Regions from separate parts of the Homo sapiens genome. Here regions 1 and 3 are each linked to region 2. Evidence: promoter capture Hi-C in 16 types of primary human blood cells and fetal thymus (Javierre and others, 2016). All regions are on one chromosome and are shown on one strand. The core of a region is centred on a gene start or on the middle of the fragment in contact, and the rest is flanking DNA. Distances in the headings are between cores, read along the strand shown. Region 1 holds the start of NSUN7 (NOP2/Sun RNA methyltransferase family member 7). Region 2 holds the start of N4BP2 (NEDD4 binding protein 2). Region 3 holds the start of RFC1 (replication factor C subunit 1).

Region 1 (2,700 bases), core at 165-2,664, 690 kb after region 2:
CCCGGTCAGGTGTCTGATCATTTCTATACATTCATTATTTTACTTGTAGGGCTGAACACAATGCCAGGGACACAGCAAGAATTTAATATATACTTGTTAAACGAACGAATGAATGCATGTATACATAAAATGTTACGGAATGTTTAACGTATTCCGGGGATAATGAAAGTGGGTGGATTTCTGAGAGAAGGGGTCAGGGTTAGAGTTCTGTACTGCTAATTTTTTCCCCATTATCCATTCTCTCCTTCTTCTACAGTAATAGTTCCCTTATTTTTAGCTGGACACATTTACCAGCCTCTTGGTTGCTGGGTATATGACTGAGTTCTGACCAATAAAATGTGAGCCAAAGTGATATGTGCACCTTTCAGGTCATTGAAAAATATGGGCTGCCCTCTCTTTCCCCTTCATCCTACTAACCACTGGCTGGAAATGGAAATGGCCTTAGCCTAAAGAAGGAAGGGCAAATCCCTAAGGAGGAAAGGCAGAGGTGGAATTAGGACCAGTTGTCTTTCAACTATACCAGAGTTTTTCAAACTGTGGTCTTTGGGCTGATTGCATCAGAATCGCCAGTTACCTGATAAAAATGCAAATTACTGGGTCTTAGCAACTCAAATCTCTAGGATGGGTTCCAAGGATTTTTTTTTAGCTGGAGGCGGTGGTTCACGCCTGAAATCCCAGCACTTTGGGAGGCCGAGGAGGGAGGACTCCTTGAGCCCAGGAATTCGAGACCACCCTGGGCAACATAATGGGAACCCTGTCTCTGTTATTAAAAAAAATTATTACAGACGGCGCAGTGGCTCACGCATGTAATCCCAGCACGTTGGGAGGCCAAGGCCGGCAGATCACTTGACGTCAGGAGTTCGAGACTAACTTGATCAACACGGTGAAACCCTGTCTCTACTAAAAATACAAAAATTAGCAGGGTGTGGTGGCGGGCGCCTGTAGTCCCAGCTACTCGGGAGGCTGAGGCATGAGAATCACGTGAACCCGGGAGGAGGAGGCTGCAGTGAACCGAGATTGCGCCACTGCACTCCAGCCTGGGCGACAGAGCGAGACCATGTCTCAAAAAAAAAATTATTACTATATTTTAAAAATATTTTAAAGAATGTGTAGTTTTAACAGGGACTTCAGGAACTTGTGAGTTAAAACCACGGAACTACGTCAGACTACCTCAAAAATATCCCCAAATGTTTATAAACAAAGCCAAGGGCACGCACTCAGGCCCGGTGAGGTCCAGGAACTGTGCAAGAGGCCTCTGGCTCGGAGGGGCTGAAACAGGTGTCTCCGCGCGCTGGGGGAAGAGCGACTCTCCCGGCAACAGGTAGCACCCGCCAAATCCCGCGGGAACGGCCCTCGCGCCGCGCCCCCTGCCCCACCTCCGCTCGCGGTTGCCATGAAGACCCGGTCCGGGAGCAGTCGACTGCCGGAGACTCGGGAGGCTGAGCTTTCCTCGGCCTGAGCCAGCCAGACCCCGGGCACCGCGCTCACCCCTCTTCGCCGCCACGTCCGCGAAGGCCTCACGCGCGAGGCCAGGCGAGGCCCCGAGGCGCCCACCACTTCACGACACCGGAGCGAACCGGGCGCCAGAGGCTGCGACCCCCCTGCCCCGAATCCTGCCGGTGGGAGTGGCTGCATTTGAACCAAACGGCCTTCGCGGGCAGCAGCCGTCGCCCCGCAGTCCCGGGGCTCCCAAGGGCCTGTGACCGACGCCGCCCTCCGCGTCTTCGTCCCCGAAGCCCCGGGAACCATCCGCCCTCGGGGTAAGGGAGGAGTCGGGGGAGCCGGTGACTGGGCTGTGGGGACGCGGACGGGGCTCCGGGGGCAGCTCTGCCCCCAGACTGGCTTGAGGGAAGCCGTCGGTCTCCTTGGGGCTCTTCTCCCTCCGCCGCTGCACCCCTCCTCGCTTTTTTTTTTTTTTTTGAGCGTCCCAGGCTCGAAGTCTGGGACACTCAGATGGGACGGGAAATGCTCCCTCTTAGTCTTTAAGGCCACAACGAAGGGGGCCACCCACAGGGGTGCTGCAGAAAGAGTGATTTACTGCAATCACCTTCTCTCTTCACAGAGACCATGCTGCAGATGCGAGGAAAGCCGTTTCCTGGAACATCGGAATTCTAACCCCAGGGTGAAGGACTCACGACAGGCGAGGGGCAGACATGCTGAATTCCACGGGCGAACTGGAGTTTTCGAACGAAGAAGATCCCGAGATCATCTCCCAACTCACTTCCCTGCCTCTGTCCGGTGGGAAAAGCTCAGCTGGTGTGCCCGAAAAAACGGGCTATCCGGACTCCGTTTATGTCATGGCAGCCAACATTTTTCAGGGTATTCGAATCGAAAAGTCGGCACAGAAAGTCTTAATCAAGTATGGGAATGAACCCCTGCGGTCCTTGTCCGAGTCTGAGGATCAGTCCTTTCAGCGTTTGTCTTATGAGCTGGCTTTCAGTGCCCTGAAATGTGAGTTGTGCCAGTCTGGAAGATCAACACTAAAAGAAAATAATAGCGAGAGAATTTGGGGAATGCAGCCCTCCTCCTCCCTTCCCCTCATTCACACCAGGTTTTGGTTTTAGGCATGTGCATATCTTTGGTTAATTGCAAGTGTCAAGGAATTAGGGTTCCCATGAAACTAGCTCTTCCAGCCCAGGATTGCAGATTTCCCCGTGCACTGTGTTTGTCCTTAGATCGGTGTAGTGCGCGGTCATTACA
Region 2 (2,700 bases), core at 1-2,500:
CACTTTGTCATGAGGTTATTTCGCTTCTCTATTCTGGGAAAAACCACTGCAAGTGGAATGAAAAGTAACCGCAAAGGGAGGGGACGGAGGAAGTAAAAAACAGGCAAAACCACCACCACTACCATCACCACCACCACCACCAACCAGAAAGCAAAGGTGAAAAATTTGCGTACCCTGAAAACACTAAACATTTCACATCAGAACCCAGAACAAATAAACCAGGGAAAGCAGAGTTGAGAGAAAAAAAATGGTGCAGGCTTGGGGACGGACTCATACTACAGCGGTCGCAAGAGGGAAGAGCACGTCTTTGCTTTTTCTTGGCATCCGAAAACTCAAGCTCGAACTGGGGGCAAAGGCCAGCGGCTGCGGTTCCACCGGCTAAGGCGCACACATTCCCCGAGCTCAGACCGCACGCTGGCAGGGCCGATGGGGCTGGGCAGCCTCCCTCCACCCCGTGGCAGTCGCCTACCCCTTTGTCTCCCCGTGGGGCTCCGAGGCCGCGCGCCCGGAAGCCCCCCGCGGGAGGGCCGCGCGCGAGAAGGCGGGTTCCCGTGCCCGCCGCAGCGGCCACGGCCCTAGTCAGGCAATGCCGAGGCCGGTCGCTCGCCTCGCCGTCCCTCCCAACTTGCAGCCTGGACCCCGCGCGCGTCAGGGCTCGTCCCAGCTCTGCTTTCCTTTCTCCCCTCACCTCGCGAGGCCGACCTTGTGTTTGTTTTGTTTTTTGGGGCTCGGGAGAGTGCCGAGGGCTAGAAACAGCTGTGGTTTACCGCGCCGCTTATTTTGGCAAAAATTCCGGGCCTGTTGCAATGTTCCCCAGCGCCAAACAGCTCCCGCCTTCCCCCCAAGCAGAACCCGACACTCGAAGAAGGGCTTGCTCCTCCAGGGACCCCCTGATAAGAAAAGTGGGGACCACGGCCCGCTCTCGGGCGAGACTTGGGGGGTGGGCGACCGGAAGCAGCCGAACCGGCCGGGCAGGGCTTGCTCTCCAACGGGAGAGCGGGAGCGGGAGAGGTGGGAGCGCCCGCGGGCTCAAGTCCCCCGGGCCGCCGCGCCGAGGCGGAGCTCGGGGACGAAGCAGAGGTCGTGGCGGACAGCCGGCGGGCTTGGGGGGGGGCGGTGGGCGGCGATCCACCTGGGCGACGTGGCAGCCATTGCCGGCGCCTCGAGACCCCTCCCCACCCGGCCGCCCACCCGCCCTCTCGCGGCGGGCTTCTGCGCGGCTGCTCTTCCCCGGCCGGACGGAGAGCGGCAGTGTCTCCCCGCCGGGCGCGCTCGCCGTGTCTCCCCCGCGGCCGCAGCTGCTTGCTAGCCTTGCGCGGCGCGGGAGAGCGCAGTGGCGCCGGCGGGAAAGGGCTGCGGACCTGCGGCGCCGCGTTGTGCGTTCGACGACGCGGCACCGGCTTCGACGCCCTCTGCCCGCTCCAGAAGCAGGTAAAGGCGGCGGGTGGGAGGCAGGGAGGCGGGTCCAAGGTGAGGGCCCTGGAGGTTAGGGGTCCCGGGGCTCCGAGCCGAAGCGGAGGGCCTGAAGCAGCGGCGGGCGGCGCGGCGAATGAACCCCCAAGCCCTGAATGTGGGGCCCGGCGCGGGCCGCCTCCGATCTGACCCGCGGGCCCGGCTGCCCGGACGGAAGGGAAGTGAGGCGTCGGCGAGAGGCGGGCCCTGGCGCTCAGCCCGAGGCCGGGCGAAGGCGGGGGCCGCGGCCGCTTCCTTGGCCTCCGAGTGCCTGGCGGGCCTCCAGGCCCCAGACACACCCCTCTCGACCCCCCGAGGTTTCCTCCCAGATCTGTTCCCGCCGGGACCTGACCTTGCGCCCCTCCAGGCGCCTTAGGTGTTTGCCAGGCGGAGCCTTCTGGGAACTTCAGGCCACCTTCCTGAGCACATAGTCCTAGCAGAGCCGTTTATTTACTCAGTTCAAGTCCAGACACACAGCCACTCACACGTTCGGATTTTGGAGACTGCGGGGAGACTTTCCCCTCCCCGGCATTTGTGTGTCTTTGGCCCTCGTCCCGCCTCCCCTGCCCCCATCTGCAACTTTGTCCCTCAATGGGACCCTTCTAGAGCCCCTCTCTCATCGGGACTCTCTCTAAGCCGTCCGTTTGGAAATTCATCCTCAATAGAGTGAGTCATCTTAGCGGGGGCACAGTTTATCTCTCATGCGCTTTTGGTTAAAATAGTTTTTTTTTTCCCTCCGAAAGAGAGCTAGAGTAATAGAATGTAGATGACAGGTCAGTGTCAGTGTTGGCTTCAAAGGCTCTTCCTTTCGGCGGCAGTCTTTGTAACTAGGATCTGATATTTGTGGCACGGACAGGTTTGTACACATTCTCGCCATGCAGTGGTTGTAATGTCTCCATGGCACAGTTCTGGCTTGAAGGCAGGATTGGCTGCTTTTTCTACTCGACATCTTTGAGCCAATCAGCAAGGGCTGCTTGCCTGGAGACTGGTTAACTCAGTAAAGGTGGCCATTGGTTGAGCTCCTAGAAGAAAATCCTGGAGATGAACCTAGCCTCTCAGAAAACAATGACTGATTTGCAGCTGTATTAAAAAAATGTTTTCTTTTAATCCCAACATCAGCCTTTTCACTCCGTTTTTATTACTTCCAGTGTTTTTCTTTCAAACACCAGCTGTCTTTTGTAACTCGTTTTAACTCTCATCCTTTAATTTTAACTAAAAGACGCGCTTTAGGAAATGTAAACATCGTGT
Region 3 (2,700 bases), core at 78-2,577, 690 kb before region 2:
GTCAGAAACACCAAGATTCTAATTCTAGTTCAACCACCTACTAGTTATATGATACACTGTTTAAATTCCAAAAAGGTGCTTGCACCATCTGTAAAACTGCATCGATGTGGGTTGAAATGAAAAAAAAAAAAAAAAAAAAAAACCATGGAAAACCAACAGTTCACATATTGACCTAAAGAAGATGCTTGGTACAAGGTAGCTACTATCATTACTGTTGCCCTTTTTTGAGAAGAAACACAAAGGCCTGCAACGTTTCCCAGTGTGGCATAAAATTTTCACCGCCCCCCCCCAGAATGTTGTCACTGTGACACGTTGACCAATGATTGAAAAAAATTATATCGGATTGTTAAGTATCTTCTAGCTTAATGAACATTTTAAATGGTCCTTTAAAAATATTTCAAACACAGAGCCATATCCATTGCCATACCATCAGGAATGTCTGCTTTGCTGGCTGCATAATCATTTCACTTTCAATTTGTTTGAACATTTTATCCAGAATTATGCAGTGAGGCTTGGGTTTTTTTCAGATTTTAAACATCAGGTGGTAAGAGGATGACAGCTGTCAAATGTCTTGCATCTGTTTCTATTCGCTGTACTTCTTTTTCCTAGTAAGCCATGTTATCCTTTTGACTCCTATGAACTCATCTAAACAAAATAAAATATCCTCTCCATGCCCTCGGTCTCAACACCGCTCAGGTGATCGTTAATGACGAGCGGAGATGAGACGAGCTGAGCTGTTAATGATAAAAGTTTAAGGCCCTACACAACATATTCCCTAAGAAAGAAAAGTTTGTTACATTCTTCTCCCTCGTGACCCAAAGCTTGAAATCCACGCTTTAGGCAGTACTCAAACTGAGGTTCGGGCAACGCCGAACAAGAAAATAACTTTACCAATGCGTCCCAAAACCACCATCCTTCCTCTCTTCCTTTCTCCCTTCCCCCAAGAGTGGGGGGCGGGGGGAAAGTGCAAGTACACGTAGCAACAAAATCCCTGCGCGCTGGCTGCCGCCCAGAGCCAGAGCCCGCGATGCAATGAAAGTTTTGCGTCCAGTGCCCGGTGTGCGGCCCCTTCTCTGCCTTTGCTAGCCTCCGGAACCACCCACCGCCATCCTCCCCCACCCTGCATACCAGGAGTGCCCGGTCCACACCAGGCCTGCAAAGCCCCCCCAGACCCCGAGCCGCACGGCCTCCCCCAGCGGCTCACCATCGCAGCCCCAGGATGAAGGCGCTGGCTGGCTGGCGGGTGGGCCGGTTGAGGAATCTGTTATCGAGGCTCAGGATCCATTCGCGCCAACAACTTCTCCCGCGAAGTGCAAGAAGGCGAAGACAGTGGCGCGCGGTGATGACGTCAGGAGGCGCGAGCTTTGCTTCCGTCCCGCCCAGAGGCGGGAGGTGCGACGCCTGCCCAGGTGCTGCCCCGAGGGCAGGCGGGCCGCTGACATCGAGAGGAACCACGGTGCTTTGGTGTGAGCTCGGTTTTTGGCGGGGGCGCTAAAGTAGGGGGATCCGATATTGGTTTCCTTGGCAGGCGGGGTACCCAAGTACCTCCCGGTTACACGTCTGGACAATGCACTTCCCTATAGTAACTTTGAAAAGTTTTTACTACCAACTTTAGTAAGATAAATGTTTTAGCTGTGCGTTTTACATATTATGTATAAATATCTATTCTGTAATAAGGTTTCATCAAGAGGCCGGACGCGGTGGCTCACCCCTCTAATCCCAGCACTTTGGGAGGCCGAGGCGGGTGGGTCACCTGAGGTCAGGAGTTCGAGACCACCTGACCAATGTGGTGAAACCCCGTCTCTACTAAAAATACAAAAATTAGCCAGGGGGTGGTGACGTGTGCCTGTAGTCCCAGCTACTCGGGAGACTGAGACAGGAGAATTGCTTGAACCCAGGAGGCAGTGGTGCAGTGAGCCGAGATCGAGCTACTGCCCTTTAGCCTGGGCGACAGAGCGAAACTCCGCCTCAAAAAAAAGAAAAGATACCGAAAGCTTTGGGGTAAACCAGTTGTATATGAATAGATTAGCAATTGAATCACGGAATACAATGAAACATTTGCGTACGATTTCAAGAGAAAGATTAGACCATAAAGAGTTCAATGGAGAAAGCAGTATCTCCAGCTTTGGCTCTAGCTACACTTTTGAAATTCTCACCCATCCACCCCCTGTTGGGTCTTGCGCTTTATGACACCAACATTTCTATGGCGAAAGATAGAACAGCCTGGAATACAACAGAGGCTGAGCATTGACAGCTTGTATTTATTAAACGCCTATTGTTGTACGTGCAGCTCTGGACTAGCCTAGCTCATTTTATCCCCATGATGACACTGACTACTCTTATCCCGAATTTACAGACAGACTGTTACTTATTAACAGGGCCTCACTGCACTGTTCCCTCTGAAGCCAGGATGCTAGGTCTCCAGCCCCACCACCTGCTATTTATGTGACCAAGGGCAAGTTACTGTGCCTCGGTTTTGTCTTAGCAGACATATCACACAAATTTTTGCCCATAATTTTAGAGGACCTACACCAATTTATAATGTTCATTGTGTTATAAATCAATAAATGAGTAAATAAGACATAAAAAGTTGTACGTGTCTTTTATATTACATTCCTCTTAACTTTTGCTTTTTTTTTTTTTTGGCATTTGAAGCCTTCCTTGAGTTTAAATGAGACTTAAGTCAGGAGACTGTAACTT

Evidence for each region. The method cuts DNA at HindIII sites, captures the fragments that hold promoters and counts their contacts. A CHiCAGO score of 5 or more calls a contact.
Region 1: the fragment with the promoter of NSUN7 here is called in contact with the fragment with the promoter of N4BP2 in region 2 in 3 of 17 cell types (total CD4 T cells, naive B cells and total B cells); the score reaches 8.4 in total CD4 T cells.
Region 3: a contact is called between the fragment with the promoter of RFC1 here and the fragment with the promoter of N4BP2 in region 2, in 3 of 17 cell types (fetal thymus, naive CD8 T cells and non-activated CD4 T cells). The highest score is 6.2, in fetal thymus.

Annotation. Positions count from the first base shown.
Region 1 is chr4:40,748,541-40,751,240 of GRCh38, forward strand. NSUN7 (NOP2/Sun RNA methyltransferase family member 7) reads left to right here and starts at 1,415. Exons shown (of 12, transcript NM_024677.6): 1 at 1,415-1,760; 2 at 2,063-2,451. The coding sequence starts at 2,154. The HindIII fragment of the contact is 13,723 bases long and covers 1-2,700 here.
Region 2 is chr4:40,055,600-40,058,299 of GRCh38, forward strand. N4BP2 (NEDD4 binding protein 2) reads left to right here and starts at 1,251. Exons shown (of 18, transcript NM_018177.6): 1 at 1,251-1,431. It also overlaps the pseudogene LOC344967. RefSeq lists silencers at 463-672, 1,013-1,472, 1,523-1,872 and enhancers at 2,063-2,112, 2,213-2,312. The HindIII fragment of the contact is 12,311 bases long and covers 1-2,700 here.
Region 3 is chr4:39,365,035-39,367,734 of GRCh38, forward strand. It overlaps RFC1 (replication factor C subunit 1), which reads right to left and starts at 1,328. Exons shown (of 25, transcript NM_002913.5): 1 at 1,205-1,328. The coding sequence starts at 1,207. RefSeq lists an enhancer at 1,250-1,369. The HindIII fragment of the contact is 1,173 bases long and covers 820-1,992 here.